2 separate regions of the Homo sapiens genome follow, and region 2 is linked to region 1. The links are contacts of gene promoters, found by promoter capture Hi-C in blood cells and fetal thymus (Javierre and others, 2016). All regions are on one chromosome and are shown on one strand. The core of a region is centred on a gene start or on the middle of the fragment in contact, and the rest is flanking DNA. Distances in the headings are between cores, read along the strand shown. Region 1 holds the start of ADAMTS8 (ADAM metallopeptidase with thrombospondin type 1 motif 8). Region 2 overlaps NTM (neurotrimin).

Region 1 (3,526 bases), core at 270-2,769:
ATCAGACAGCCATCTCTCTCCATCCCATCTGCCTTTCCCTGGGAGCCTCTCAGATCTGGAGGCAGTAGAGGGCTGAGGGGTGGGAGTGGGAGCTATTCGTAAACGCTCAATTTTCATCTCTGCTGGGAGAGGCAGGTGCCGGGGAATGCGTTGATACCCACTTTCGGGTCAGTGCGCCACGTGCCGCGGGAGATTCGGATGAGAGGGATGGGCGTCGGCAGCCCCACTCTAAACTGGAAGGGACCTGGGGGTGGGGGCGCAGGGATCCAGGGTGGCAGAAGTTCAGAAAAGAGTTACTGCTCTTTCTCAGACAGGAGAGAATCTCGTTTGGGGTAAGGCTGGAGAAGATGAGTGGGGAGGGCTTTTTTTTTTTTTTTTTTTTTTTCTCAGAGGGATTGGAAGGGGAGATTTTAGAGACGCTGGGAGGCGTCTGGGGGGCCTCCGGGCACGGCGGCTGGAGGAGGCTCTCAGTCCTACCTGCAGGTCGGCCCCGTAGAAGGCAGCCATGGACGCATCGGCCACCAGCAGCGTCTCCACGAAGCGCGCCTCAGACACAAACCGCTTGGTCCTACTCGTGGCCCCCAGGGGCGGTGGCGGCTCGCTAGCGCCTTCTGCCTCCTCTTCTTGGCTCTCCTCCTCGCTGTCCTCCTGGTGGTCTCCTCTCTCCTGCCTCTGACCCTCTCCCGTCTCCACCTCCCACTCGGGTCCTCGCGGGAGGGGGCGGGCTCCGGCGGGACCCCAGCGCTGCAGGCGGTGCGGCTGAGCCAGGGAGCCCCCCGCGCCCTGCGGCTGGATGGTGAACTCCTCGCCGTCCAGCAGGAAGGAGCCGCTCAGCCCGCGGCACAGGCTGACCGCCGCCAGCGACTCGGGCTCCCCATTCACGGTGCCGGAGAAGAAGCAGCCGCGCAGCCCCCGCTCGCCCCCGGTCGCCCGGCCGGAGCCCCCGAGGCGCTCGATCTTGAACTCGGGCGCTAGGAAGCTGTCGTCGGGCGCCAGGCGCAGCACGAAGCCCTTGCCGAAGGCGGACAGGTGGAGCGCGAGCTCGCCCGCGCTGCCGGGCAACCGCGTGGGCACCACCAGCTCCGAGGCCTGCCCCCCGGCTGCGGGCCGGGCCGGGGCGCCGCGGGCCAGCGGCAGCAGCAGCAGCAGCAGCAGCAGGAGCGGAGGCCACCGGGGGGCGGCGGGGGCGGGGAGCATGGGGGCTGCGGCGGTGGCTGCGCGCAGGAGAGGGAAGAAGCCCGCCAGGCGCGGGCAGGTGCTGGCGGCCCGAGCGCGGCCCGGCCGCTCTCTCCAGGAAAAGCGGAATCAATCGGGTGCAAGGCCGACTCGGCCCGCGGGGCCCGGCGGCGGGAGCGCTCCCCCGGCGGCCCCTCTGGCTGGCGCAGCCCGCTCCTCCCGCGCCGCCGCCCCCGAGCCGAGCGCGAGCAGCTGGCCCCGGCCCGCGTGCGCCCGTCCTCCGCCCCTGCCCGCGCCAGCCCCGCGCAGCCGCCTCCTGCCTCCTCCCCACCCCGGGAAGCACCGAGTGGGCTGCCGAGCCCTTCTTATTTATACTTCCTTCCCGGCTTGACATAAGAGGTTTATTTTTGATCTCTCACTATTCCCGTTTCCCCTCCCCTGGGATCAGAGAGAGAAACTGAAAAGAGGGAGAGAGAGTGGAGAAAAAAAAATTGGGATGAAATGCAAAACCAATCAGGCAGCGAGACCCGTCCGCCACCCGCCCCCCTGAAGTGTCAACTACAACTTCTTTCCTTTCCCTCTACGCGTGGACCCACGTTAACCCCTACCATGCTGGACTGACCCTTTAGAAAGAGTCCCTGGGAGACCCCAACCGCTTTCTCCTCTGCGGCCAAGAGTCCAGGATGCATCTTCCGAAGAGGCTCGTGCACTGGTCTCAGCGACCCTGTTCGGATCCCTGCAGAGTCCGACTGCAGAGCCCGACACTGTTGGGATCCCTGCAGATGCCTCCGGAGATCCGACTGTGTGGGGAGAAGGTTCCTGAGCTTTTCATTGTAAAGCATAAAGGGAGAGGAGGAAAAGGTCATGCTAAAATCATGCCCTCCTCTCATCACTACTGCACAGCCTTCCTAACTTTCACTCCAAACTGAAGATGGGGAAAACAAAAACAAAACAAAAAACAACCCACCTGGTTAACCCTAAGAGGGACTCTCACTGTCCTGTTAGAGGGCAGGTGGGGCAGAGGCCAGCACAGTGGTAAGTTACCAGCACTGAGGTTGGAAGTTAGCATTTCCCCAAGAGGGAAACAGACCTCCAGTCCCTGAAAAAGGTCTTCTCTTCTGGATACTGCTAGTTGCCCGGGACTTCAAGTAAGGTGGCAGGCCCTTTCACTGCGTTGCCACAGCCCCAGGAACAAATGTGTATGAGGTGAATTTATTCTGTCCCATGTCACCACTGCCCCCTAGGGAAGGGGGTAGTATTCAGGAAGAGAGGGATGACATGGTCTCAAGACCACAAAACTGCATCCCATCCCAGTCTCAATGACACAGGTCTGGATTGGGTGGAGGGCCCTGTTCTCTACCTACAAACTCTAGACTCATCCACCAACTGTGCCTTTCTCTGAGTTGTCAATGTGGGTGATGCATTAGGAACCGCTGGGATCAGGGCCTTTAAATCCTTTGCCAATTCACCTGCCCCCAGGTACCCAGCTCTGTGCTTATGCTGGGGATGTTGACAGTCGAGGTCATCGCTGATTCTTTTCAGCCCATCTGACCCCTTCCTGCAGTGTGGTGGTTCAGCATGCATCTGAGACTCTCAGGGCTTGTTACCTCCAAAGAGGAGGCTCTTGCCCAGGGGAAAGTGCTGCCAAATTCCCTCTAAGTATCCCCCCTCTCTTTGCTTTCTCAGAAACACAGAGGGACAGCTGTGAATTAGATGAAAGGATGAACTTCCCAACCTAGCATGGTGCAGAACCTCCTTTCCTGCATAATTTATAGGATAGGAATAACGAGTCTAGAATGTTTTGGGGAAACACTTCTAGAGGAAGGACAATGGAAAGAATGGTCTCTTCAACCCTTTTCTCAAAACAAGCAAAACACTTCGTCCTAGCACAGTGTACAGTGCTTGGGACATCCTGTACAGTGCTTGGGACAGTCTGACCTGGGCAAGCAATGAATACAACTCTGTGTTGCCTCAGGGCTATTGTAACAGTTCAATGACTGGTTTTTACCTCCTTGAAGCCCCTTATTTGCTGTTTCCCAGAGTACAACTCCTGATTTTCTCTTTTTGAGACACAGTCTCACTTTGTCACCCAGGCTGGAGTGCAATGGTGCGATCTTGGCTTACAGCAACTTCTCCCTCTCAGGTTCAAGAGATTCTCCTGCCTCAGCCTCCCAAGTAGCTGAGACTGCAGGCAGGCACCACCACACCTGGCTAACTTTTGTACTTTCAGTAGAGATGGGGTTTCACCATTTTGGCCAGGCTGGTCTCCAACTCCTGACCTCAGGTGATCCGCCTGCCTCAACCTCCCAAAGTGCTGGGATTATAGGTGTGAGCTACTGTGCCAGCTAAC
Region 2 (3,629 bases), core at 190-2,689, 1.2 Mb after region 1:
AAATTGTGAGTACAACAATGGATCAAGAAGGTGACCCCAGAACCCTTGCTGTGTGCCCACTGGGGTACAGCTGGTGACCAGGAGGATGCTCAGGGCTGCCTGTGGGCTCCTGAGTGGAGAGACTTGAGGTTGACCAGTCCATTTCCACTAACTTTGTAGGATGCCTACCTTAGAGGACAAAGGAGGCTGGTGGCCTTCTCTGAGCAGGGCATTATGGTGGCCCCAAAAGGATCACAGGGCCCTTTCTGCCAGCCCCCAGGCCTGTACTTTGTAAGAACTGCAAATTGTGTCCTCATTGTCTGTGTGTATGTGTTTCAGTGTGTGTGTCTTTCTTCTTATCTCTTCATCATCTGGGTCACCTGCCCACCTCTGGACAAAGCTTGCATTTAAATATGGTGCCAGACAGTGACGTGATACAGTTAGCGGGTGATGCTTGCTGCTCTAATTTTGTCTGCTTTTGGGAACTCTGCAAAAATGCTCTTCCATCCCTCACTGGGAGCACTGCTGGACAAATGGTACTAAAGGGACCTGTACCTTGGGGGGCCCAGGTGACACCTGAGACCCTCTGTAGACAGCATGGCAGCCCTCCACTCTCTCGGCTCTCCTTCCTGAGGCTGGAGAACAGAGATCTCACGTTTGCAGAAGTCCTTTTAAAACAAAGTGCCAGAACAAGGATTTGACATCACCAGTGAGAAAAAATAAATTCATTTTTGCCCACACCTCCACTCCCCCGTCTGTTGGTGTCAGACTCTGATGGGTTGAAAGGCGGCACAAAGAGAAAGAGGGTAGGGAGATGATGGCAACTCGGGGAGATAATTGACTTCAGAAATGCTATGTCTTGGATGTAGGAAGAAAACAAGTGAAAATATGTTATTTTACAACCTTGATACTTCTGACCTCATGGAAAAAACATACACACACAGCGTAGGGTGAGCAGGTAGGCAGGAGGAAGGGTCCTAGCACGGGGTGCGGGCGCCCTCGCGTGGCCATGAGAAGTAGTGCCACACGCACACGTTCTCTTTCCCAGAGAAGCAGACGTGCTGCACAAGTGCTTGGCCACCGCCTACACTGAAACTGGAAAGAGCTCACTGAAAAGGAATGCAGTTCATAAAAAGTCTTCCTTCTCTACCCAAGACATTCTTGTCACTCCTAGGGCTGTCATTCTTGAAAAGGAGAGGCTGGTATAGTAGGAAGAAAGCTCAATCCTAAAGCTCAGTTTGGTGTTTGTGGCTTAGCGGCTGGACGTCCTTAGTGTGTCTTGGCTTGTCGCCTGTAAAGTGATCAGCATGACCTGGATGGTGCTTCTGCTTCCCTGCAGCTGGGATGCTCTGGCCTTGAGGATGCTGAAACACCAGAGAGCTGGCCACTCGCTGGTATCAGTCGGGCAAGCGAACTCTTTGTGTGGGATTGCTTCATTTCATTTGAAGTCATTCATTGCTATGATTGTAGTCTTTTTCTGGTTCCCATGAATCTGGTGTTGGCTCAGTGTAACAGAACCAGCCTTATTGTTCCCATTTGCAGTTACAAGAATATTGCCATTGTTATTTGCAAGCCTGATTTCCCTGTCTGGTTACCTGTAATGCTGCTTCTCTGAAATTCTCTGAAAGACAGAAAAACCTTCCCCGCGGGATATAGGTTATCAGGCACCTAAACTCATTGCAGCTCCAAGACATGCATGGATTAGGGACCAAGATGTGGGGCTCATAGTTTACAGAATTTGGTCTTATATTCTCCCTTTCATCTGGATCTTCATACAGCTACTCACTTGCTGCTAGAAAAGAAAGCTCCCAGTGTGCCAGATGGATTCCAAAGTCCCATTTCCTGCATTCATCCCACCATATTTGAAGACTCTTTTCTTTTCAAATGCTTAGCCCGGGTGAGCAGACCTCAACCTTCGCCTAGCACCCATCTTCCTGATCCTGCCTGAGCTTCCAGATCCCCAGTTCCATCTTTACTTTGGTTCTTGTATAAGACGAAGAGAGCATTTATCTTTTCTGTTTAAACCCTTGGGATATTTCTGTTTAGCAAGACAGCAATTTCGGGCAGCTACACTGTTTTATTAAGTATATTAAACAGCAGAGTAGCTCATCTGTTGTCGACTGGCTTTCTTGGCTCAAACCCAATATATCACGGGTGGTTTTCCCAACACATTTTTAAATTCTTATTACTGGCTAGGATATGATTTCACAAATGTTATTATAATAATTCATTAGTATCTTACATAACCAGTAATACAGACTGAACCTTTGCCAAATGCATTGTTATAACTTTTTGGAATGGTGGCCGCATTAATTAATCATTGCTTGTTGAGTGCCTACTATGAGCAAGAGAATTTGCATTTTTGTTCTTTCATTTCTCATGACAGCCCAATAAGGGAGGTAGGATTATCTCATTTTAACCAAAGGAGACTCTGAGGCCGAGGGAGGCTGAGCGGCTTACTCGAGTTCTCGCAGCTGCTATATCCTAGAGGAGACCAAATTCACACCCAGCTTGGACTCCAAAGCTTGTACATTTCTCATCATGTGACCCTCCACCCACAGACTGTCTGAGTACAAAATTCCACAGAGGGCCTTGACTTAGAAGACCCTCTGCCAGCATTTTGTCTGTGGTTTTGTGTGTCGTCTCAGATGAAGGTGACTCAAGACTTCAGGCAGAGGATGTTTTCCATTTAAATCCCCTAAAAGAAAATGGCCCTGTTTCTAGAAGAGAGAAAAGCCCAGACGTCTGCTTGACTTTGCTTCCAGGGGCAAGGACTGGGGTCCAGATCCATAATCTGGGAGAGTCTTTTATGGCTTTCACCTTTGGTGTTGAAGAGGACTGGCAAGCAAACCCCTTGGACCAATGGTTTCACCCTTGGAAACTTAGCTGGGTAGGTCCATGTCACCATGGGACTGGACTGACATTTAGCCAGATTTTGAAATGAGAGACTTGAACCTGAACCCTTGCTTTTCTCTTCTGGATAATTTGATTTTTAGCAAGAGGCTGTTGGAAGACACAAAGGTCCATTTTGTCTCAAAACAGGTGAACATAGGGAAGAGAAACTGAAAAGGGAGGCTTTGGGAGCACATAACTGTTTTCAGATATTTAAGTGCTGTTTGGTAGAAAAGGAATGAGATGTTTTCTGTATAATTACATAAAACAAAACCAAGACTGATGGACAGAAGTTATTTGGGAGCAATCTGTTCAATATAAAGGAAATTTTAAGGGTCTAAGCTACCCAAAGAAGTGAAGGGCTGCGTTGGAGTTTTTCTAGCACTGAGGGTGTGTGTATCTGTGTGTGTGTGTGTGTCTGTGCCTGTGTACATGCGTGTGCGGGGGTATGCCTGTGTGTGCGCATGCATGCGTGACTGTGAACCTGCATATGCACATAGTGGAGGGAGCACATAAGAGACAGAAGGTTTTATCAGACGACCTTCACAATTCCATATTTTCAGGAAGTCTATAATTAAATGTTTTAACATGGGCCTTCAGGCACCACAATTAGCCATTGGAGAGACAGATTTGCTCAAGAAGTCTGCCTGGTGCACTTTTTCTTCGTTGAAAATTTTAAACCTTCAAAAATGTAATAAAAGTAGTGTATTGAACAGCTTCCCTCCATATTTACTATGCACCTTCTAAGAACAAGGCGT

What was found. The method cuts DNA at HindIII sites, captures the fragments that hold promoters and counts their contacts. A CHiCAGO score of 5 or more calls a contact.
Region 2: a fragment that was not itself captured here is called in contact with the fragment with the promoter of ADAMTS8 in region 1 in 1 of 17 cell types (endothelial precursors); the score reaches 7.1 in endothelial precursors.

The regions. Positions count from the first base shown.
Region 1 is chr11:130,427,090-130,430,615 of GRCh38, forward strand. It overlaps ADAMTS8 (ADAM metallopeptidase with thrombospondin type 1 motif 8), which reads right to left and starts at 1,520. Exons shown (of 9, transcript NM_007037.6): 1 at 478-1,520. The coding sequence starts at 1,197. The HindIII fragment of the contact is 10,262 bases long and covers 1-3,526 here.
Region 2 is chr11:131,673,166-131,676,794 of GRCh38, forward strand. All of the region lies in intron 1 of NTM (neurotrimin), which reads left to right. Among named protein-coding and RNA genes, the nearest start is that of NTM-AS1, 11 kb to the left of the region's middle. RefSeq lists an enhancer at 850-1,144. The HindIII fragment of the contact is 2,124 bases long and covers 378-2,501 here.